7 separate regions of the Homo sapiens genome follow, and all the other regions are linked to region 2. The links are contacts of gene promoters, found by promoter capture Hi-C in blood cells and fetal thymus (Javierre and others, 2016). All regions are on one chromosome and are shown on one strand. Each heading gives the region's core, a stretch centred on a gene start or on the middle of the fragment in contact. The rest is flanking DNA. Distances are from core to core; before and after follow the strand shown.

Region 1 (3,286 bases), core at 56-2,555, 290 kb before region 2:
CGCCACTGCACTCCAGCCTGGCAAGAGAGCAAGACTCTGTCTCGAAAAAAAAAAAAAGGTAACAAAACAAAAGTTCTCCAGATCCTAAAGCCTAAATCTTAACAAACTTTTAAGGACTACTAAAGACTAGAACCTAGACCTCTGTACAAACAGGTTTTGTTTGGTTTGTCTGAAATTAAGAAACTGCCTCTACAAGATTCCAGCACTCATTCATTCCTAACATAACCTCTTACCTCAGTGCTATGCTCGTGTTGGAAGAGTTATGCTCTTGTGTAAAAAAGCAGAATTTTGAGTGAGTCCAATCCCAAATTTTTTTTTTTGAGATGGAGTTTCGCTTTTGTCACCCAGGCTGGAGTGAACGATCTCGGTTGCTCACTGCAACCTCCACCTCCTGGGTTCAAGCAATTCTCCTGCCTCAGCCTCCCAAGTAGCTGAGACTACAGGCACCTGCCACCATGTCTGACTAATTTTTTGTATTTTTAGAGAGATGGGGTTTCACCATGTTGGCCAGGCCAGTCTTGAACTCCTGACCTCAGGAGATCCACCTGCGTCAGCCACCCAAAGTGCTGGGATTACAGGCGTGAGCCTCTGTGCCCAGCCCCAGTCTCAAATTCTGTTAGTTTGACTAGAAAGGTACACAGTAATGCATGCATGCCTTTGTTATTTTTAATTAACTTAAAAATGTTTATTTTTAGCTAATTTATGGTGGAACCTGCCCCCAATATTTCAGTGTAGGTTCTTTCTATTTTCCGTAAGTGTCAGCTGGCTGAGAAATAAAGAGAAAGAGAATAAAGAGAGGAATTTTACAGCTGGGCCTACAGGGGTGACATCACATATCAGGAGGACCATGATGCCCACCTGAGCTGCAAAACCAGCAAGTTTTATTAAGGATTTCAAAAGGGGAGGGGGTGCAAGAACAGGGAGTAGGTCACAAGATCACATGCTTCAAAGGGCAAAAAGAACAAAGATCACATGCTTCTGAGGAAACAGGACAAAAGGCAAAACAGAACTACTGATAAGGGTCTATGTTCAGCTGTGTATGTATTGTCTTGATAAACATCTTAAACAACAGAAAACAGGGTTCAAGAGCAGAGAACCGGTCTGACCTCAAATTTACTAGTGGTGGGGGGGGTTTCCCCACCCTAATAAGCCTGAGGATACTGCAGGAGATCAGTGTGTATTTCAGTCCTCATCTCAACCGCATAAGACAGACACTCCCAGAGCGGCCGTTTATAGACTTCCCCCAAGGAATGCATTCCTTTCCCATGGTCTTAATTATTAATATTCCTTGCTAGGAAAATAATTTAGTGATATCTTCCCTACTTGCACGTCCACTTATAGGCTCTCTCCAAGAAGAAAAATATGGCTCTATTCTGCCCAACCCCACAGGCAGTCAGACCTTATGGTTGTCTTCCCTTGTTCTCTGAAAATTGCGGTTATTCTGTTCTTTTTCAAGGTGCACTGATTTCATATTGTTCAAACACACATGTTTTACAATCAATTTGTACAGTTAACACAATAGTTGTCCTGAGGTGATGTACATTCTCAGCTTATGATGATAACAGGATTAAGAGATTAAAGACAGGCATAAGAAATTATAAAAGTATTAATTTGGGGAACTGAGAAATGTCCATATTAAAATGAAATCTTCACAATTTATGTTCAGAGATTGAAATAAAGACAGGCATAAGAAATTATAAAAGTATTATTTGGGAACTGATATATGTCCATATTAAAATGAAATCTTCACAATTTATGTTCCTCTGCCGCGGCTCCAGCTGATCCCTCCGTTTGGGGTCCCTGACTTCCCGCAACACTAATTTTAAGTAAATATTTAAATAATTTCAGATTCATAATAGTTTCAAATTTATAGAAAAGTTGCAAGAAGGTGGGTGGATCACGAGGTCAGGAGATCAAGACCATCCTGGCTAACTTGGTGAAACCCCATCTGTACTAAAAATACAAAAAATTAGCCCGGTGTGGTGGCACGTGCCTGTAGTCCTAGCTACGTGGGAGGCTGAGGCAGGAGAATTGCTTGAACCCGGGAGGTAGAGGTTGCAGTGAGCTGAGATCGTGCCACTGCACTCCAGCCCAGGCGACAGAGTGAGATTGCATCTCAAAAAAAAAAAAAAAAAAAAAACAGACACATAGAGTAATGGAAAAGAATAGAGAACCCAGAAATAAATTCATACATCTACATTGAACTGATTTTTGACAAGGCTACCAAAAGCATACATGGGGATAGAACAGTCTCTTTAATAAATGGTGCTGGGAAAACTGGATATCCATAAGCAGAAAAATGAAGCTAGACCTCTATCTCTCATTATGTATACAAATCAAATCAAAATAGATTAAAGACAAATCTAAGACCTCAAACTATGAAACTACTACAAGAAAACATTGAAGAAACTCTCTAGGACACTGGTCTAGGCAAAGATTTCTTGAGTAATACCCCACAAGCACAAGCAACCAAACCAAAAATGGACAAATAGGATTGTGGGTGAAAGATTACCTAGGTGCCAAGGCAAGAGCCTGAAGGCACAAACTGTTTCAGTATAATAAAGAAAATAGTTAGATTAAGAATAGTTATAATACAAATTAGATATAGAGATGATCATGGACATTATCAATCATTAGTATAATCATTATTAATCATTAGCTTTTAATATTACTCTTCGTTGCATTACTAATATAACCTAGGAATAACTGGCGGGTATAGGGTCGGGTACTGAAGGGACATTGTGAGAAGTGACCTAGAAGGCAAGAGCTGAGCCTTCTGTCACGCCCGCATAAGGGCCGCTTGAGGGCTCCTTGGTCAAGCGGTAATGCCAGTGCCTGGGAAGACACCCATTACTTAGCAGACTGCAAAAGGGAGTCTCCTTTCCTTGGAGGAGTCAGGGAACACTCTGCTCCACCAGCTTCTTGTGGGAGGCTGGATATTATCCAGGCCTGCCCGCAGTCATCCAGAGGCCTAAACCCCATCCTGTGGTGCTGTGCTTCAATAGTCATGCTCCTTGTCCACTTTCATGTTCCTCCCGTACTCCTGGTTCCTCTTTGAAGTTCACAGTAGATAGCGGTAGAAGAAATAGTGAAAGTCTTAAAAGTTTTTGATCTTTCTTATAAGTGCATAGAAGAAAACGCTGACGTATGCTGCCTTCTATCTCTGCTTCGGCTACCTAAAAGGGAAGGGCCCCCTGTCCTATGATCACATGACTTGCTTCACCTTATCAATCACTTAGAAGATCCACCCTCCTTACCCTGCCCCGCTTGTCTTGTATGCAATAAA
Region 2 (3,305 bases), core at 408-2,907:
GTAGTTGGCTAGACTACCTAGGTTTGCGTAAGAACACGCTATGATGTGCGCAAAACAACAAAAATCGCTTAATGACACGTTCCTCAGAACATATCCTTGTGGCTAGGTAAGGCATGACTGTATTAGAATGCTGACTGGGTGCGTAAGCCGCTAGAAGGAGCACAGCAAATTTAGGGAGGATGCAACATGTTAAATCCGAGGGAACTGGCAGAGGTGAAAAGGGGGGAAAGGAGCATAGGAAAGAGTTCTGGGAGGAAAAATATAGCTGTAGCTAACATTGTACCAGGAGAGGTACTACATACCCGGTCCTATTTAAAGGGCTTCATATGTATTGTCACATTTAAATACGAACTATCTATCACATGTAGTCTCCTCTTGATGCACAGGATAAGTAACATGCCCGTGGTCTCCTCACCAGTTAGCAAGCGGATATCCAGCCTTGGTTATCTGACTCTGGCGCCCTTGCGGTTAACCAGGACACACACTACCTTCCCAGGTGCAGACATGAGATTGGTTTTAGATGATGACTGAAATCACCGGCCTGGGAGACATTTCTCAGTCAGAGAAGTGACACTGGGAAGAAACCCTAGAAATAACGTTGCAAACGAGTAAGTTTGTGAAAACACACTAATAGTTCTATTTCGAAATTTCTTTGTCAGATTATTTTTGGTGCCGGTTACTAAACGAAGTGTTCAGTTTCATTGAGCTTAACTGGGTTGAAGTTATCTAGACAAAAGTAATCCACATCAAAACCAGGACGAATTAAGACGTAATTTCTGTTTTCTGGCACTCTTGCCTCATAAATCTAGGATTCAGGGCATTGTTTTCAATGGTTCTCATTTTTGGCTCCAAGGATTCTTTTTCATGTGACTAATATTTTCGGTAGAAGAGGAGGTCTGGCCACGCCGCGGGTCTTGGCGAGCAGGTGATCACGGATCCCTGGTGTTTGCTGGGCGAGACGGTGAAGCAACCTCCTCCCCGCCCCCTCCCCCGTCTAGAAAGGTGCAAGATCCGCTAAACCGTGCGTTGCACAGCGGCGGCCGGAGCAGACGCGGGATGGTCGCGCGTCCCCTGCACAGCACAGAGGGGCAGCCGGAGAGCCTGGGAAAGGTACGAGCGGGGAATCAGAGCACAGGGTGCGGACCAGAAAGAGCAGACGGTCAGTCGGGCGGGGAAGGAAGTTGCCGAGTTGCAGGTGTGGAAGGGGCTGCCCCAGGCCCACCCTTGGCAGACGAGGGGGCGGGGAGTCGCGCCGGGGACGAGGAGACTGCGGACCGGGCGCGCTCCTTGCGCAGTCGCTCGCCCGCGTGCCCAAGCCCCCCGGGAATGGCCCTCGCCCAGGGGCCCAGCTCGCCGCCGCTAGCCCCGCAGAGCCTGCAGCTGCTGGGGCCCGGCAGCCGCCAGGGGGCGGGAGCTGCGTCGCGAACAATGGCCGCGCTTGGTCGCGGGCCGGCGGGAGGCGGAGTGGAGGTAGAGCCGGTGCCGGGCGCGCGCGCCGGCCGGGCGTGCTGGGGCGCGGGAGCGGCTGCGCAGGCGGGGGCGCGCGGCGCGAGCGCGGGAGGGCGCGGCGGGAGCGCCGGGGAGGCGGGCGGAGGCGGGCGGAGGCGGGGGGCGGGGAGCCCGAGGGGTGGAAGCCGGCGGCGGCCGAGCGGGGTCAGTTCTCTGTAGTGTTTGCCAATGTTGGAGCCGTCTGCAAAGTGTCCCCGGCAAGAAGGTAAATACCCTCATCGGGGGCGTCCGGGAGACCCCGACTTCCGCGCCGCCGGCGAAGAAGGCAGAGGGCGCTGGGGAGCCCTGCAGTTCCGCAGCACGGGGAACCCGGAGAAAAGCAGCCCCCTTCGCGGCCTCCCCTCCCCCGCGCCTTCCCTCCCACATCGGGCTCTCGGGGCAGCAGCGGGGAGGGGAGACCGGCGGGGGAGGGAGGACAGGGAGGCGAAGGAATTGGGGTGGGGGGTGCGTGTGTGGTGGAGGGGGTGGGACGACACAGGTGTCCTGAGGGGAGGAGCCGGGAGGAAGGCGAGGAGGCCGGGCCAAGTGGGGGTGCGGAGGTCGGGGAGACAGGAACGCGGCTGCGGGCGCGGGAGGCTGGGGTTCTAGGGGGCCGGGGTGGTAGCGGCCGGAAGAGAGGACGGCGAGTGCAGCCACGGTGTGGCTGCGAGGGAGAGGGAGCGCCTAGAGTAGGGCAGGGGAGGGCGGCCCGGGGAGGGTCTGCGGGAAATGGGCCTGGGGGCGCTGGAGGCGGAGCGGCGGGGCCGGGGCGCGCCGGAGGGTGGCGGCGGCAGCTATTTCTGTAGAATGGGCTAGTGGTAAAGACGTAACTTGCCGAAATGGGGAGGGTAGGTGGGGCCGAGGGGACAAAATATATCCTATGACAGGCAAGTTCTGCTGTGGCTGTTACGAACTCCTACCGTGATGGCTCGGCTTAAAGGGGTAGTTGGCGGTAGTGACCTTGCCGGGGTGAAGGGAGTTGGGCGAGGAGACAAAGCTCAGTTACGGAATCCGCTGTGTGAGAGCAGGAACTCTAGTCTCTTCGGGGTCGAGCCGGGGGCTGTGGCTTGGGGGCTGGGGGTGCTCCGCAGAGGCCATTGAGAAGCACGCCACTCTGGGATTCTTAGGGAGGCGGTGGGGGTAATGGCCGTGGGATTCTGGAAGTCTTTGGAAATGTGTGTAGAATTTTGCATTTGTGAATAATTTTCTTTGGTAAGGGTCCATATTTGCTGTGATGTCCCCTTACCCCCATCCCCACTCCAAAGGGTTAAGAACTGCTTGAGCAGATAGAGAGGGACCATTCAATTAGGGTAGACCTGGGAATTTACCAAAGGATTTTAAAGTGGGTGGATCCTGCAGAAAGAAAGGCTAGAGATGATCCTTTAAAGATATTTTACTGTTAATTGAAAACGTTTTTTATTTAATGTTTGCTTTCACAATTTTGGTGAACTTTTGCTGAGCATTACTTGGCTTCTGATGCATCCTGTGTTTCAGACCAGCATCGTGAATACTTGAAATCAAAATTGTGATGGACAGGCAGGGTGATAGTAACCTTGGAGGAGAAAAGATTTCAACATTTCTCCAGGATATTTCTTCCCCGTCCTTGCTTTCTTTAGATGATTCAAGTACACTGTTGTGAACTCAGCTGCGGTGGAAAAATCTTATTTAATAAAACTACCAAAACCAAGACTTACTCTCCATCTCTGTTTTGTAGTATGGCCAGATTTTCATTGTTCAGTTTGTATCTTACTGCAAACAAGAGATATCACATAACACTTTAATTGTAGATTGCTGCATTTTGCAGCAGGCCTGTATTA
Region 3 (3,481 bases), core at 867-3,366, 310 kb before region 2:
TATAACGGCATTAATCCCATTCATATGAGGGCTCTGCCTTCAAGACCTAATTACCTCCCAAAGGCCCCACCTCCTAAAACCATCACATTGGAGGTTATGGTTTCAACATTTTAAAATGGGAAGGGACACAAACATTCAGTCTATAACAGCGATCAGGTGGCACAGGAGCCTAGAGAAGGGAGCAGGCCAGATCCTCAAAGGGCTTGATTTGGCATGCCAAGGAATTTGGCCTTCATCCTATAAGCAGTAGAAAAATTACATAGCATTATACCTGTGAACACAAACAGAGGTTCCATTCTCCAGGACACGAAGGTATAGAAATGCTCAACATTTTGTCATTGTTGAATAGGGATGGTATTTTTGATAGCAAATAACAAAGCTCAGAACCTGCTACGGCAAAACCGGAAAACTGGATTACCAGAAAGAGGTTTGGAAGGACCACGTGGGCCTGGAATTACCCCAAGTGTTAAATAAATAGATCAGTTTACTTCTCCTGAGGAAACATAATCTCCTAGGATACAGGAGAAAACTTGAGGGCAAGGAGTGACCAGACTACCCCTCAGCTTACTACCTGAAATGAATTTGGTTGTGAGTTCCAACATCCACCCTCTAGATTTGCACAGCAAAGAGAGGGCTATGCCTGTGCAGTACGCAAGGGTCAAGGAGGGACTCAGGTTTATTCATTTACTCCATCAGTCTTTCGACATATATTTATCGAACACCTATTATGTGCAAGAAGCTGAGACTCAAAAGTGGAGAGAAAAAACACCTCAGATTTGTTTCCTCCTCTCTAGGAGTTCACTGTCTAGGTGTTCAACAAGGAAAAATGATTTAAGAGTGAAAAGTATTGTGATATAATTACCCCGACTGAAAGTCAGGGTTCCGATAGGTAGTGAATTTTAAGCCAAGACCTGAAGGCTAAGAATGGCCTATTGCCTATCCCATTAGATTTTTTTAACTTTGCTAATTGATTTATAAAATTTTAAGAAAACATTTTCTGGATATCAATTGTTTGTTATAACTGAAAACACCTCTCAGACAGACACTTAACTTTTATCTTTGTTAATGGTATTTTTTTCTTTTGACAATAAGAGTTGGAAGTTTTTCGTTGTCGTCGTCGTCGTCGTCGTCGTTGTTGTTGTTTGAAACAAGGTCTGGCTCTCCCTCCCAGGGTAGAGTGCAGTGGCATGATCCTGGCTCACTGCAACCTCTGCCTCCTGGGCTCACCTCAGCCCCCTGGGCTCTCACCTCAGCCCCCTGAGTAGCTGGGACCACTCGTGCACACCACCACGCACAGCTAATTTTTGTATTTTTAGTAGAGACAAGGTTTCACCACGTTGCCCAGGCTGGTCTCAAATTCCTGAGCTCAAGTGCTACCACCTACCTCAGCCTCCCAAAGTGCTGGGATTACAGGCCTGAGCCACTGCGCCCAAGCAAAGTTTGAAGTTTTGGATGTAACAAAATTTATCTCTTTTTTTATTTCATACTTTTGTTGTTTGTGTCTTGTTTGCCTAATATTTTGCCCTGAGATCATAAAGCTGTTCTCCTAATAGTTTTAAGTAGATTTTCTTATAATAGTTTTGAAGTTTTGCTTTTCACATTTAGACCTGTAATCCATTTGAAATTTAACTTTTTTGGAAATTTAACTACTCAAAAATGTGAATTAGACATTTCATTTTATTTTTTTTCCATAAGGAAGGTGAATTTTGGCAATGCCATTTATTGAATTTACCCTTTTCCAACGGGTATATGGAAAGTCCCTATAAATATAATCTGTTCCCAGATCTAATTATCTATTCTGTGTCAGTAGTACAGTTTTATTTATACAACTTTTTAAAAATGTCTTTATATCTGATAGAGAAATCCCCACCTCCTGCTTCTTTTTTAGAATGTCTTGGCTAGAAGTTCTTAGAATCTGTTTGTTAAGTTCCACACAATAATGTTGGGATTTTTATTAGAACTGCATTAAATTCATAATTTAATTTATGGAGAATTCACATCTTTCTATCAAGCATTTGCTTCCATAAATATGTTAGATTTCTTCATTTCTTCAGCTGTTCTTTCGTGTCCTTTGTGATAGTTAATTTTATGTACCAATTTGCCTGGGCCACAGTATGCTCAGATATCTGATTAAACACTATTGCTGGGTGTGTCTATGAGGGTGTTTCCAGAAGAGGTTAGTACTCGAATTGGTGGACTGAGTAAAGATGATGGCCTTCCCCAATGTGGGTGGACATCATTCAATCCGTGGAAGGCCTAAATAGAACAAGAAGGTGGAGGAAGTTTGGATTATCCTCTCTCTGCTTGACTGCTTGAGCTGAAACATCAATTCCTGCCCTTGGCACTCCTGGTTCTCAGGCCTTGAACTACGTCACTGGCTTTTCCTAGGTCTCCAGCTTGCAGACAGCAAACTGTGGGACTTCTCATTCCGTATAATTGCATGAGCCAATATCTTATAATAAATCTCTTTCAGCCGGGCACAGTAGCTCATGCCTGTAATCCCAGGACTTTGGGAAGCTGAGGCGGGTGGATCTCCTGAGGTCAGGAGTTCAAGACCAGCCTGGCCAACATGATGAAACCCCATCTCTACTTAAAATACAAGAATTAGCCCAGCGTCATGGCACATGCCTTTAATCCCAGCTACTCTGGAGGCTGAGGCAGGAGAATCGCTAGAAACCAGGAGGTGGAGGTTGCAGTGAGCCGAGATTGCGCCACTGCCTTCCAGCTTGGGTGACAAAGCAAGACTCCATCCAAAAAAAAAAAAAAAGAAAAACTTTCTAGATAGATAGATAGGTGTAGATATGTAAGTATCCTTTTGCTTCTGTTTCTCTGGAGAACCCTGACTAATACATTCTCTAGTAAACTTAAATTTTTCTCCATAAAGGTTTTGCAGTGGATGATATTTTCAAAAGCTAAAGTTCATGAGTAGCAGAAAGTTTAGGTTTAAGGTAGAAATTAAAGTTATAATCCAGAAGTTTCCTCTGGATCAGCTTAATATAATTAAAACTATCATGAAGAAAATAAAATGGAAATGCATTTTAATAGACCACTCTGGAAGATAATGGGAATGTGTTCAGCATAATCTGTGTTGTAATATTTTAGTTTTTTTTTTTCACCCTTACAAGAAATCAAAAGAAAGTCTGTCCTAGTGTTTCTTGGAGCATCTATCTAATATGCTAGAGTCATAGGAGTCTCCCAGGCATATTTGTTCAAGCCTAGACCTGGAGAAGTATCCTCTTCAAACAGGACTACTAGCTGCCCTTAGGCTCACGAAGTATTGAAGGCCTAAGAAGGTAATCACGGCAGGCTGGATCCCAGAAAGTGAATGCATGCTTTCACCTCTAGCTGGAACCCTTTTCTACTCCACAGATGTTCACTGCCCTTTTCTATCCCTTCTATTCCGCATTTTTATACTGAAGCATAACTTATGCTAACACCTCATCCCCTGGATTACTTTAACAGAGAATAAAACGTAAGGTAA
Region 4 (3,447 bases), core at 814-3,313, 430 kb after region 2:
CCATCTCGGCCTCCTAAAGTGCTGGGATTACAGGCGTGAGCCACTGCCCTTGGCCTTATCTAATTTGTTATAATTTTTGTGTGTAAAGATTGAAAACAGCAATTCCCTTAATTCTGATGTTTTTCTGTGCTCCCACCAATTATTCATACAGGTGCCACATGAATTTTTGTGAAGTATCCCAAGGTCTTCCCCAGTCATCATGTAGTACCCCACTCCCAACTCACACCCTGTTTGAGTTTCCTCATCAGTACCCATGAAATGCTTATTCTCACCTGTGGCATTTGACCCATGAACTCTTCTGATAATCTATCCCAGACCCTTCGTGTGTAAATCAAAGTGTAATATTCATCACATATTTATATAGTCTCTCATGCTTTTCAAAGCGCTTTATGTCACTGGAGCCCCCTAATAATTCTTTACTGAAGGTAGTTAGGGTGTTAAACCTTTATCTAATATTATTCTAGGCCAGCCTGACTTTGTCTACATTTCTCTAAGACCTATAGTCAGTACCATTTACCTTAATGCGATTATGTGTTTTATAGTGCTTTGATTTTGATTGTCTTATACTTATTTGTCTGACTGTCCCAGACTAAGCTGGAAGACCCAGATCAATCTTCCAAATATTAAGGGAGAATTACCTTGCTACACTGAGACAGGCACTGTGGAGGAGAGCTAGTGATACGGTTTGGATCTGTGCCCCCACCCAAATCTCAGGTCAACTATAATCCTCAATGTCAGAGGTATGGCCTGGTGGGAGGTGACTGGATCATGGGAGTGATTTTTCATGTATGGTTCAGCACCATCTCCTGGTGCTGCTCTAGTGATGAGTGAGTTCTTGCGAGATCGGGTTGTTTAAACGTGTGCAGCCCCCACCCCCTCGCTTCCTCCTGCTTCTGCCGTGTTTATTGCTGCACCCTCTTTGCCTTCTACCATGACTGAAAGCTCCCTGAGTCTTCCCCAGAAATGGAGTAGAAGCCTCTATGCTTCCTGTACAGCCTGCAGAACCGTGAGCCAATTAGACTTCTTTTCTTTGTAAATTACCCAGTCTCACGTATTTCTGTATGGCAGTATGAGAACAGACTAATACAGCAAGTGAACACACTTCTCATTACTGCATTGCCCAAGTACACTGCTGAGGAAGAGAGACACATGTTTCAGCTTGATTGTATTTCTTTGTAGTAGTAAAAACAGAAAGAGTAATTATGACAGTAATTATTATTTTGATCTGTTACCAGAAAAAGTCAAAAACTGGTACTTCAGGTTATTATGGGTTCAACTTTAGGCTCTATAATTTATACATGGGTATTATATCACAGAATTGAAATAAAGTAACATCACAATGGAATTTATATATTCCAATCTAAACTAGAAAACAGCTGGGCACAGTGGCTCACACTTGTAATCCCCAAGCTTTGGGGGAGGTTAAGGCGGGAGGATCACTTGAGCCCAGGAGTTCAAGACCACCCTAGGAAACACTGTGAAACGCTGCCTCTACAAAAAATACAAAAAATTAGCCGGGCATAGTGGTGTGTGCCTGTAGTCTCAACTACTTGGGAGGCTGGGGTAGACAGATCGCTTGAGCCCAGGAGGTCGAGGCTACAGTGAGCCGTGATTGTGTTATGGCACCCCAGCCTAGGCGACAGAGCGAGACCCTGCCTCAAACAACTAGAAAACATATCCCTAAGTAATCAAGCCTATATGTCTTTTAAAAGTATCTAGTTATGATTAATTGTTCCCAGATTAGCCAAAAAGTATAAAACATATTATTGACGTTAACCAGAGATCATTTTTAAGTTTTGAAAATTTGCCTAGTCTTGGAAGACAGCAATAAACTTAACATAAAGGGTCTTAGTTATCTTTCTGTATAAAAGTTAAAGTATAAGGACTCAATATTAAATCCTAAGAAATTACATCCAATATCAAATTCCTATCAGAACCTGCTACTTGGTTACCTGACAAATCTGAATCACTCACTCACGTGTCCACTCTAACTCCAGCCAGCGGCTGGCTCTGACTAGAAACTCAGACACCATAGCAGGTTGGCTGTAATGACTTCCCTGTATTCACGTGCTCTGGTCTTGCCTGCAGGTATTAAATGACTAATCCAGATCCCCAGCACCACATCAAGGTAGGTGACAGAAGATTAACAAGTTCCTAACTGTTCTTTAAGTGTAATTTGTTGCAACGTTCTGAAACTGATTAATATCCCCTCCCCTTCTTGCCCTGAAATGAATCTGGTGGTATTAAATTAAATAAAATAGTTCCAGTTTGTCCATAAGGAGGGTAGTATGGCTGCATATTCTAAAAAATGTGACGTGGGGACACACTTCCACCTGTGGGACCCTCCCCCCACCCCCAAATTGTCTGAAGAGGAGTTAAGCTAGTGGTTTAAAGGAAAAGGAAGCAAAAAAGGGCGAGGGGGAGAGAGAGAGGAGGCCGGTGGGGGGAGAGAGAGAGAGAGGAGGCCGGTGGGGGGAGAGAGAGAGAGAGGAGGCCGGTGGGGGGAGAGAGAGAGAGAGGAGGCCGGTGGGGGGAGAGAGAGAGAGAGGAGGCCGGTGGGGAGAGGAAGGGAGAGAGAAAGAGAAACCAAACAATCCAGATATGGCTATGTGAAAAAAATCTTTTCCAACTGTGGGCTATAAACATTTGGAGAAATATATTCCAATTTTAAAGAGTAAAGTACGACACATGCTGGCTGGTTGTAATATGAAGCTTTCTTTTGAGAGGGAGATTATTTGTTTTGTTCTGTAAAGCACAGGTGAGTCAATGTTCAGTTTAAAACATGTGATTTCTTTGCCTAATCAAGGACAAATCTGGCCTTCTGTATAAATTAAATCCAATGTATCTTTGCATTTTCCACATTTTTAAGACAAAGATCCATATTTTTTATTTGAAAGGCTCATTAATTACAGGCAACACTGCAATTACTATAACAATCACTCACAGCGTCAACAACCACCAAAGAGCTGCGCGGAGGGAACTGAGAGGTGAAGAAAGCTATCCAGGGCCGCTAATCAGCCTGAGATCCCAGACGGCTTGTTTCTAAAGCTGGTGTCAAACATTTACTCAGCTCTGCTCTGTGTCGGGCAAAGGCAGGCTTGGGGTAGGAGCACCCACATCAGGACCACTCGGGTTTCTTTTAAGCCTGTGCTCAGGTTCCCGCTGGAGCCCAGTACACGTGACTGAGCACGAAGGCTGTTAATCATTTCCTTTGCTGCCTGAATAGAGGCGAGCAATTACTCCAAACTCCTGCCTTATGTCTGGGGCGCATTATTAAATAAACTTTGATCAACATGAATTCTATTCCATACTTTGCAAGAAAAATGCTATAGTTGGGTGACTAGAAAGCATCACATTTTCAGGAATTTTCCCAAGTAACCTGACTAGTTTTCTTTTCTAATTACTCTTGCCCTCAACAGTCTGGTAGATGACATTTGAGATAGCACA
Region 5 (3,134 bases), core at 23-2,522, 270 kb before region 2:
AAAGAAATTAAGAACAACCACTAGACCAGGAACAGTGGCTCACGCCTGTAATCCCAGCACTTTGGGAGGCCGAGGTGGGCTGATCACGAGGTGAGGAGTTTGAGACCAGCCTGGCCAACATGGTGAAACTCCATCTCTATTAAACATACAAAAAAAGTTGTTGGGCGTGGTGGCATGCACCTATAATCCCAGCTACTGGGGAGGCTGGGGCAGGAGAATCTTTTGAACCTGGGAGGCAGAGGTTGCAGTGAGCTGAGACTGCGCCATTGCACTCCAGCCTGGGCGACAGGGCGAGACCCTGTCACAAAAAAAAAAAAAAAGAAAAAAAGAAAAAACCCTAGATTTCTATTAAGGGAGACTGTCCTAACACTTAGCAGTTCAGGTAGGTGGAAGGAGTTCTAACCTCTTCTGTTGGATAGAACCCTTTTTTTTTTGTTTTTCAATTGTTTTGTCTGTCTTAGAAAGCTATCTTTTTTTTTGGTTTTTCTTTTTTTGAGACTGGAGTCTCACTGTGTAGCCCAGGCTGGAGTGCAGTGGTGGGATCTTGGCTCACCGCAACCTCTGCCTTCATTCAAGTGATTCTCCTGCCTCAGGCTCCCGGGTGGTAGCGGGGATTACAAACATGTGCTACCACACCCATCTACTTTTGTATTTTTAGTACAGACTGGGTTTCACCATGTAGGCCAGGCTGGTCTGGAACTCCTAACCTCAAGTGATCTGCCCGCCTCGGCCTCCCAAAGTGCTGGGATTACAGGCTTGAGCCACTGTGCCTGCCAAGAAAGCTCATATCTTGCTCATACCTTCCATTCTTTTCTTTTCTTTTTTTTTTAAATTATACTTTAAGTTCTAGGGTACATGTGCACAATGTGCAGATTTCTTACATATGTATACATGTGCCATGTTGGTTTGCTGCACCAATTAATTAGTCATTTACATTAGGTATTTCTCCTAATGCTATCCCTCCCCCAGCCCCCCACCCCATGACAGGCCCTGGTGTGTGATGTTCCCTGCCCTGTGTCCAAGTGTTCTCATTGTTCAATTCCCACCTATGAGTGAGAATATGCAGTGTTTGGTTTTCTGTCCTTACAATAGTTTGCTCAGAATGATGGTTTCCAGCTTCATCCATGTCCCTACAAAGGACATGAACTCATCGTTTTTTATGGCTGCATAGTATTCCATGGTGTATATGTGCCACATTTTCTTAATCCCGTCTATCATTGATGGACATTTGGGTTGGTTCCAAGTCTTTGCTGTTGTGAATAGTGCTGCAATAAACATACGTGTGCATGTGTCTTCATAGTAGCATGATTTATAACCCTTTGGGTATATACCCAGTAGTGGGATGGCTGGGTCAAATGGTATTTCTAGTTCTAGATCCTTGAGGAATTGCCACACTGTCTTCCACAATGGTTGAACTAGTTTACACTCCCACCAACAGTGTAAAAGCATTCCTATTTCTCCACATCCTCTGCAGCACCTATTGTTTCTTGACTTTTTAACAATCGCCTTTCTAACCAGTGTGAGATGGTATCTCATTGTGGTTTTGATTTGCATTTCTCTGATGACCAGTGATGATGAGCATTTTTTCATGTGTCTCTTGGCTGCATAAATGTCTTCTTTTGAAAAGTGTCTGTTCATATCCTTTGCCCACTTTTTGATGGGGTTGTTTGATTTTTTCTTGTAAATTTGTTTAAGTTCTTTGTAGATTCTGGATATCAGCCCTTTGTCAGACGGGTAGATTGTAAAAATTTTCTCCCATTCTGTAGGTCGCCTGTTCAATCTGATGACAGTTTCTTTTGTTGTGCAGAAGCTCTTTAGTTTAATTAGATCCCATTTGTCTATCTTGGCTTTTGTTGCCATTGCTTTTGGTGTTTTAGTCATAAAGTCCTTGCCCATGCCTATGTCCTGAATCATATTGCCTAGGTTTTCTTATAGGGCTTTTATGGTTTTAGGTCTAACATTTAAGTCTTTAATCCATCTTGAATTAATTTTTGTATAAGATTTAAGGAAAGGATCCAGTTTCAGCTTTCTACATATGGCTAGCCAGTTTTCCCAGCACCATTTATTAAATAGGGAATCCTTTCCCCATTGCTTGTTTTTGTCAGGTTTGTCAAAGATCAAATGATTGTAGATGTGTGGTGTTATTTCTGAGGCCTCTGTTCTATTCCATTGGTCTATATCTCTGTTTTGGTACCAGTACCATGCTGTTTTGGTTACTGTAGCCTTGTAGTATAGTTTGAAGTCAGGTAGCATGATGCCTCCAGCTTTGCTCTTTTTGCTTAGGATTGTCTTGGCAATGCAGGCTCTTTTTTGGTTCCAGATGAACTTTAAAGTAGTTTTCTCCAATTCTGTGAAGAAAGTCATTGGTAGCTTGATGGGGATGGCATTGAATCTATAAATTACCTTGGGCAGTATGGCCATTTTCACAATATTGATTCCTCCCATCCATGAGCATGGAATGTTCTTCCATTTGTTTGTGTCCTCTTTTATTTCGTTGGGCAGTGGTTTGTAATTCTCCTTGAAGAGGTCCTTTACAACCCTTGTAAGTTGGATTCCTAGATATTTTATTCTCTTTGTAGCAATTGTGAATGGGAGTTCACTCATGATTTGGCTCTCTGTTTGTCTGTTATTGGTGTATAGGAATGCTTGTGATTTTTGCACATTATTTTATATCCTGAGACTTTGCTGAAGCTGCTTATCAGCTTAAGGAGATTTGGGGCTGAGATGATGGGGTTTTCCAAATATACAATCATGTCATCTGAAAACAGGGACAATTTGACATCCTCTTTTCCTAATTGAATACCCTTTATTTCTTTCCCTTGCCTTATTGTCCTGGCCAGAACTTCCAACACTATGTTGAGTAGGAGTGGTGAGAGAGGCATCCCTGTCTTGTGCCAGTTTTCAAAGGGAATGCTTTCAGTTTTTGCCCATTCAGTATGATATTGGCTGTGGGTTTGTCATAAATAGCTCTTATTATTTTGAGATACGTTCCATCAATAGCTAGTTTATTGAGAGTTTTTAGCATGAAAGGCTGTTGAATTTTGTCGAAGGCCTTTTCTGCATCTAGTGACATAATCGTGTGATTTTTGTCTTTGGTTTTGTTTATGTGATGAATTACGTATATTGATTTGTGT
Region 6 (3,533 bases), core at 234-2,733, 480 kb after region 2:
CAAAGTGCTGGGATTACAGGCATGAGGCACCGCGCCCAGCCTGCTATGTTTCTTAAATCTCTTTTAATCTATAGATTATCCCTACCCCCTATACGGATGATTGACTGATTAATTGTAATTTATTTGTGGAAAGAAACAGTTTATTTGTCTCAGGTCAAAACTGCAGTCTGATTTTGCTGATTGTATCCCCGCGATGCCATTTAATATGTTGTTTTGTCTTCTATTCCTCTAAATCAGGAGTTAGATCTAAAGGCTTCATCAGAGTTGGGTTTGATTTTTTTCTGGCAAGAATGCTATATAGATGGTGGTGTTCTGCCAGAGACACATCTTCGGCAGGAGTTAGTACTGCAGTGTTGAGGTAGAATTTCCTTCCTCAAGGAAACATCAGTTTTTCTCCAGGGACTTTCAACTAATTAGATAAAGCCCACTCAGATTATTGAGGAAAATCTCCTTTACTTAAAGTCAACTGACTGTACGTGGTAACTACATCTACAAAATACTGTCCCAGCAACACCTAGATTAGTGTTTAATTAGATAACTAGATACTATATAGCCTAACCAAGCTGAAACAAAACATTAATCGTCATAATTGCCAAGCTCCATTTATTAAGGTTTGCAAAATGGTAATATTTTATAATCATACTCTAATTCCCTCATTTATTAGTTGAGATACTGTGAGAAACTTTCCTATCATCATTTATTTGAATAAATGCTTGGTTATTTCCTGATATGTATTGGGTTTCAAATTAAGTTGATCCTTTAGTATCCTCCAAAGATGAGTAAGGTTTTCATTTGTTTTTGCTGTTGTTTTGTTTTTAAGTGCTGTACAGCAGTTCCCCCTCATTTTCAGTTTCTGGTTTCAGTTATCCATCATCAACTGAGGTCAGAAAATATTACATACAATAAAATATTTTGAGAGAAAGGGCACATTCACATAACTTTTATTATAGTACATTGTTATAATTGTTCTATTTTATTATTAGCTGTTGTGGTTAATCTCTTACTGTGCCTAATTTATAAATTATCATAGGTATGTATATATAGGAAAAAACATAGCATATATAGGGTTCAGTACTATCCACAGTTTCAGGCACACACTGGAAGTCTTGAGCTGTATTCCCCAGGGATAAGGGGGGATTACCGTATATTTACACATTTGTGTATTCTACATGCTTAACATATTTTAATCCATTAAAGTTAATATTCTTATTAAGGTTTATAGTCCTATCTTTGGTCAGTTGGCACCTCATTAAATCGGTGACTGCCATGATTGCAGTTGTCTTTGATAGATTCCTAGACTTCTGAAATGACAAATTATTACAGGTTCATTTTGTATATTTCCTACCACAGACCTGGAATCAGCTACTTCTTCCAGGGGCCCTAGTTTTTTTTTTCTTTTTTCAGGAATGAGATCACAGCCTGGTTGTTAGGGGTTTTTAATGCTCTTGGTTTGATGATTGTTTCTGGGCGCCTGCAGTTCAGTGGACAGTGCTAGGAAACATTTTTTCATGGTTATTTTAAATAAAAGCCTGTATAATGATACTTCCAATTCATGTTTAGGACTTTGGGAGTTTTCACTTAATCTTATTGATCTTAAATCTTTATGTTTTTCTCCAACACTGGAAACCTTGGTTGCCATCAGCACCATATAAACATTCACCTACTGAAAAGCCACCTCAAACCATAAGGTAGATCCTGTACGTTCAGGGAGGTAGAGCAGTAAGATAGAAGTAGTCTGGCTCTCTGACATCCTGGCACCAGCCTTGAGAGGTCTGGCCAGGCTTTTATATGGTGGAAAATATTCTTGTGTAAGCCATTCATATTCCAGCCATCTTTTCCCATGTCATGATGACACCTCAAATGAGTGGATAGAAACTTTGAGCAATCTATCCCAAGATAGAAGGGCTTCATAGATTGCTCCATCTCAGAGTTCTGTGAGGGACCATAAGCAGGTCCATTCACTCACTGAAAAGCCCAGAAGGCTGCCTGCCAGCTACACAGTCATCCTAAATGAGCCAGAGGTGGCCGAAGGTTTTCACTCTTCTGTCTCCCTCTTTATCAATTTCTTTTCTGTTCTCCAGATGAATGGAGATACAAGAAAAGGTAAGAATCATTTTTTAAAAGTTAAGATACCTTCATTAGTGTTTTGAAATTCAAATTTTAGACTGTGGGAATGTGACTGGATGTGAGGAGATCAGTTAAATCCTAATACAACAACCCAGGCATGAAATGACAGTAGCTTGGAGTAGGGTGGAGATGGAGAGAAGTAGACAGATTAAGAGATATGTAAGAGATAAAACGAACAGCTCTTATTGAATGACAAGATTTAGGAGGAAAGAGGGGTGTCCATGTTGGCATCCAGGTTTCTACCTTTTGTTACTGGAGCATGATGATGTCAGGTACTGTTAGGGAATCTGGAAGGAAACATACTTCAGTTGGAAAACGTGGCTAGTTTGGGGGCATTTTGAATTTGAGATGCCCTTGAGACATCCAGGTAAAGCTCCCTAATAAGCAGTTCTTTTTGTATGCTGATTGCTCAGAAGAGATGCCTGAAGATATAGATTTAGGATTCTTTGAAGAATGGCATGGGAGAGATCACCATGCTAGCCATATTTAACTGCTTACATTCCTTGAACAGAGAAGTTCTTTTGATACCTCTGTGTCATTGCCCAGCAACGACTCTATAAAGAGGTCTGACCACTCCTCCAACCTGGACTTAGCTTAGGGGGGTCATCTCCTTAAAGCCTTTCCTGAGAATTAACAACTCCCTTCTTTGTGTTCCACAGTGTCCTTTATGTGCCTTTAAACCAGAGATTTGCTTTTAACCCAACTCTAAGATGTTTCTTCCTATTCAAAGCCTTCTGATGGATTTTTGATGCACGTAGAATAAAATCCAAACTCTGTTATGACTTATAAAGCCCTAAAATACCTGATATCTGCTATCTTTCAAACCTTGTCTTATTCTCCTCTCCCCTTTGCTAGCTTCATATGTAATTTAAAAATTTCTGAAAGCCACATTAAAAATGCAAAAAGAGACAGGTGAAATTAATGTAAATAACCTTATTTAATCCAAAGTATCCAAACTAGTATCATTTCAACATAAAATCAATACAGCATATAAATTGTTAATGAGATATTTTAGATTCTTTTTTTTTTCCTCAAGAAGTGTTTGCAATCTGATGTGTATTTTACACTTATAGCACATCACAATTCTGACTAGCATGTTTTAAGTGCTCAGTAGCCACCTATGACTAGGGTCTACCATATTGGATACCATAGCTGTGATACACAGAGCTTGTCTACCTATAGAACATGCCAACCTCATTCTGGTTTTATAGCCTTTGCACTCACTGTTCTCTTTGTGAAGAGTGCTCTTCACTTTTAGATATTCCTCCAGATATCTGTGGCTACTCTGGTCCATTGAGATCTCAGCTCAGGATCACCTTATTGCCAGATGTGGTGGCTCACGCCTGTAATCCCAGCACTTTGGGAGGTTGAGGCAGGTGGATCACTTGAGGTCAGGAGTTTGAGAC
Region 7 (3,587 bases), core at 575-3,074, 350 kb before region 2:
TCCTTTTCATTTTCCTGTTCTATAAAGTAAGGACTATTTTCTAGGACCCCTTTCAGACTGTTAGGGTGTGATTACTGGCTACATTTTAGAAAATTAATCTCTTAGAATTGCTAACTCTGTCTGAATCATGGGCTATGAAGCAATTATGTCACCAAAAGTTAGATAATTTGTAAGGGTCATTGTTTTTTATTCTAAAAGGGCTAATAATAGACCAGCTGCTGTCAAGAGCAACAGAATTCTGCAAGTTCTTAGTATCATCAAATAAATACTAAGACAGAATAAGATGGTCTGGGTGTGGTGGCTCACACTTGTAATCCCAGCACTTTGGGAGGCCAAGGTGGGTGGATCACTTGAGGTCAGGAGCTTGAGATCAGCCTGGCCAACATGGCAGTCTCTACTAAAAATACAAAATATTAGCTGGGCGTGGTGGTGGGTGCCTGTAATCCCAACTTCTTAGGAGGCTGGCGCATGAGAATCGCTTGAGCCCAGGAGGCGGAGGTTGCACTGAGCCAAGATCATGCCACTGTACCCTAGCTTGGGTGACAGAGTAAGACTCTGTCTCCAAAAAGAATATAAAAAGACAGAATAAGATGAACCTGTGAGATTTTTTTTAATTCGGACAATTCTGGCATGATTAGCTTGCACCATAAGGGACATTTGTAAACATTTTTCTAAGGCCTTACTTTTTTATACAGTTTCCAAAAGAAATCCTGGGTCTTCTTTAACTCCCTGCTCAGTAAAGTGTGAATTGAGAGGCAGTATTGAATACCGAAGGGCTAGAGCTGGCAAGATACTTCTGAAATTACTCATTTCTGACTCTCACATCACAGACAAGTAAGCTGAAGCCCAGAGGTACACAGTAATTGGCCTGAGACAGTCCCCCAGCTATTTATTGGAAAAGCTTACCTGACACAAACAAGAAATAAGCCTTAGAGGTCTGACTGGTGAAAAACCATACCTGCTCTAAAATTTAACCAACATTATGTAGTACTTGTTGTGTTCCAGGCACTGCTTAAGTCAATTTCTCTGCTGGCCATAGAAAGTACCTAGGGATAGTGTCAAAAGGCAGCTTCTGATTCAGCAGGGCTGGTGCCAGGTCTGAGAGTCTGCATTTCTACTATAACAAGCCCCTAGGTATTGTTGATGATGCTGGTCTGAAGACCACACTTTGAGTAACTGGGGTCCAAGTACATTGTTTATTTATTTATCTATTTACTTATTTATTTACTTATTTATTTATTTATTTATTTGAGACAGAGTCTTGCTCTGTGGCCCAGGCTGGAGTGCAGTGGCACGATAGCTCACTGCAACCTCCGCCTGCCGGGTTCAAGCGATTCTCCTGCCTCACCCTCCTGAGTAGCTGGGACTACAGTCACACATCACCACACCCAGCTAATTTTTGCATTTTTTAGGAGAGACGGGGTTTCACCATGTTGGCCAGGCTGGTAACTCCTGACCTCAAGTGATCCACCCACCTCAACCTCCCAAAGTGCTGGGATTACAGCCATGAGCCAATGTGCCTGGCCCCAAGTACTTTATAAATATCAACTCTTCTATTCTCCAAAATAACACTACTACTGTTACAGATACAGGTACTGTTGCTATTCCAATTTTACAGAGGAGGAAAGTAAGGCACAGGAAAGTGAATTGTCTAAGAGCACACAGGCGGAAAGGGCCAGAGTCAGGATTTGTACCCAGACAGCCTAACGGTAACCTGTGCTCTTAACTACATTACCCTCAGATTCTCAAAAGCAACCCATGATCATCTCCATGCATCCACATATCTACTTTCAAGGCTGGGTCATTAACACTGTATTTTAAGTATGCTGTCATTAAAACAATCACCATGAAAATTATTTTTAAAATTAGGAAATGCTCATGATATAATGTTAAGCAAAAATATCAGAATACAAAATACATCAAGCCAGTCCAGGCTCCCTGACCACCCACCTCCGTCACTCAAGTAGGAACCACCCAAGTCATCCCTGCAACAGCAGGAAAGGTCTGCTCTCTTTTTCTCTCTCCCAGAAACTACCCCCAGGGAAACTTCATTCTTGCTCCTGCTCCCCAACAAACACTTTAGGAAGTGAGGTCTCCCCCGATCAAAGGCTTGAGAGAGAAGTATTCACATCACCCTGGGAGCAAGCCAGCCATCCTAGCATCTATAGCTTTCTTTCATTCATTCAACAAACATCCACTGAGGACCTGCTATGTGTCATATACCATCATAGGTGCTGGGGTACAAAACAGACAGAGTCCCCGCCCCCATGAAGATTACATTCTAGTGGGAAATGGCTGACAATTGTCAAAAGCATAAAAATAAGCATATTATATAATATCTTACTAGATGATAATTGTTATAGAAAAATAATAGAGCAGGAGAGTCAGCAGGGCTGGAGGGAGAGGGTTGCAATGGTACTTAGGGTTGTCAAGGTGACCTCAGCAAGAAAATGACATCAGAGATTTTAAGTGAGGGAGTTCATGATGCACATGTCTGGGAAAGAACATTCCAGGCAGAGAGAACCACAGGTGCAAAGGCCCTAAAATAGAAACACATCTAGAAAGTTAAAGGTACAGCAAAGAGGCCATGGTGTCTGAAATGGATGAGTGACAGGAAGAGGAGTCAGAGAGGGAATGGTTGGGGGAAGGGACAGATCATGCAGAGCCTCATTGGTCTTAATGAGGGCCTTGGTCTACTTTGAGAGTAATGGGGAGAATCAACCTTGGAGGACAAGGATGGAAGCTTGAAGACCAGCTAAAAGGCAACTGCAAGAATCCATGCAAGGGATGTTTGTGGATCAGACCAAAGTGGTTGCAGTGGAGATAGTAAGAAGTGGTAACGAGATTCCAGATATTAGGGTTTTTTGAAAGGTTAGATGTGGAATGTGAGCAAAAGAGAGGAGTCAGGGATGCTTCCAAGGCAATTGGCTCGGGCACTTAAACACATGAAGCTGTCCTTAACTGAGATGTGAAAGAAGGCAAGGAAAGCCAACTTGGAAGAAAGATCTAGAGTTCAGTTTCAGACACGTGAAGGTGGAAATGCAGAGACATGGAATAGATGGTTGGCTCTGTGAGTCTGGAATTCAGGGACAGGTGTGGGCTGGAGGTGCTCGTGTGGGAGTTTGCGGCACAGACAGCCATGAGACCAAATGAGATTTCCAAGAGCATGTGGAAGGCAGAGAAAAAGGAGCGATCTAAGGTCTGAGCCCTGGATGTGTCAATGAAAAGAGAAGGAAGCAGCAAGCATCTGGGAAGATGTATCCAGCAGCAGAAGAGGTAGGAGGGAAAGTGCAGAGTCTTGGAAGTCAAGAGAAGAAAATGTTTGCTGGAAGAGAGAGTGAGCGACTGTGTCGGCTGCTGCTGCAAGGTGAGATGGGATGAAGACTGAGAACCAAGCTTTGGATGTAGCAAGGCTGAAGCCATGGTGACCTTCACGAGCAGTTTCATGGAAGTAAGAAGAGAAATGTTTTTCCCCACAGGAAGGATAGAAAACTTCAACAATAAAAATGGGAAAGGGGCACCGTGGCTGGCATTAAACCTATAGGGAGGGATGGAGGAAGAAGCAACAATCCCTATGGCCCTTAAAG

What was found. Contacts are between HindIII fragments. The CHiCAGO score rates a contact against its expected background, and 5 or more counts as called.
Region 1: a fragment that was not itself captured here is called in contact with the fragment with the promoter of STAU2 in region 2 in 3 of 17 cell types (activated CD4 T cells, neutrophils and naive CD8 T cells); the score reaches 13.7 in activated CD4 T cells.
Region 3: a fragment that was not itself captured here is called in contact with the fragment with the promoter of STAU2 in region 2 in 4 of 17 cell types (activated CD4 T cells, neutrophils, non-activated CD4 T cells and 1 more); the score reaches 14.1 in activated CD4 T cells.
Region 4: a contact is called between a fragment that was not itself captured here and the fragment with the promoter of STAU2 in region 2, in 3 of 17 cell types (neutrophils, M1 macrophages and naive CD8 T cells). The highest score is 5.5, in neutrophils.
Region 5: a fragment that was not itself captured here is called in contact with the fragment with the promoter of STAU2 in region 2 in 1 of 17 cell types (activated CD4 T cells); the score reaches 5.7 in activated CD4 T cells.
Region 6: a contact is called between a fragment that was not itself captured here and the fragment with the promoter of STAU2 in region 2, in 1 of 17 cell types (neutrophils). The highest score is 5.2, in neutrophils.
Region 7: a fragment that was not itself captured here is called in contact with the fragment with the promoter of STAU2 in region 2 in 2 of 17 cell types (neutrophils and activated CD4 T cells); the score reaches 12.9 in neutrophils.

Annotation. Positions count from the first base shown.
Region 1 is chr8:74,039,553-74,042,838 of GRCh38, reverse strand. It overlaps a transcript of LY96 not described here. Among named protein-coding and RNA genes, the nearest start is that of LY96, 50 kb to the right of the region's middle. The HindIII fragment of the contact is 7,934 bases long and covers 1-3,286 here.
Region 2 is chr8:73,745,192-73,748,496 of GRCh38, reverse strand. STAU2 (staufen double-stranded RNA binding protein 2) reads left to right here and starts at 1,657. Exons shown (of 15, transcript NM_001164380.2): 1 at 1,657-1,714. RefSeq lists silencers at 1,155-1,444, 1,525-1,614, 1,905-2,084, 2,195-2,254. The HindIII fragment of the contact is 14,890 bases long and covers 1-3,305 here.
Region 3 is chr8:74,057,810-74,061,290 of GRCh38, reverse strand. It overlaps a transcript of LY96 not described here. Among named protein-coding and RNA genes, the nearest start is that of LY96, 68 kb to the right of the region's middle. The HindIII fragment of the contact is 7,541 bases long and covers 1-3,481 here.
Region 4 is chr8:73,314,247-73,317,693 of GRCh38, reverse strand. The region is part of intron 2 of RDH10 (retinol dehydrogenase 10); the gene reads right to left. It overlaps RDH10-AS1 (RDH10 antisense RNA 1), which reads left to right. Exons shown (of 6, transcript NR_125388.1): 5 at 2,089-2,128. Among named protein-coding and RNA genes, the nearest start is that of RDH10, 21 kb to the right of the region's middle. The HindIII fragment of the contact is 1,302 bases long and covers 1,413-2,714 here.
Region 5 is chr8:74,019,768-74,022,901 of GRCh38, reverse strand. All of the region lies in intron 3 of LY96 (lymphocyte antigen 96), which reads right to left. Among named protein-coding and RNA genes, the nearest start is that of LY96, 30 kb to the right of the region's middle. The HindIII fragment of the contact is 3,841 bases long and covers 1-3,134 here.
Region 6 is chr8:73,264,706-73,268,238 of GRCh38, reverse strand. It overlaps a transcript of C8orf89 not described here. Among named protein-coding and RNA genes, the nearest start is that of C8orf89, 6.9 kb to the right of the region's middle. The HindIII fragment of the contact is 6,052 bases long and covers 1-3,533 here.
Region 7 is chr8:74,095,369-74,098,955 of GRCh38, reverse strand. It overlaps a transcript of LY96 not described here. Among named protein-coding and RNA genes, the nearest start is that of LY96, 110 kb to the right of the region's middle. The HindIII fragment of the contact is 1,842 bases long and covers 904-2,745 here.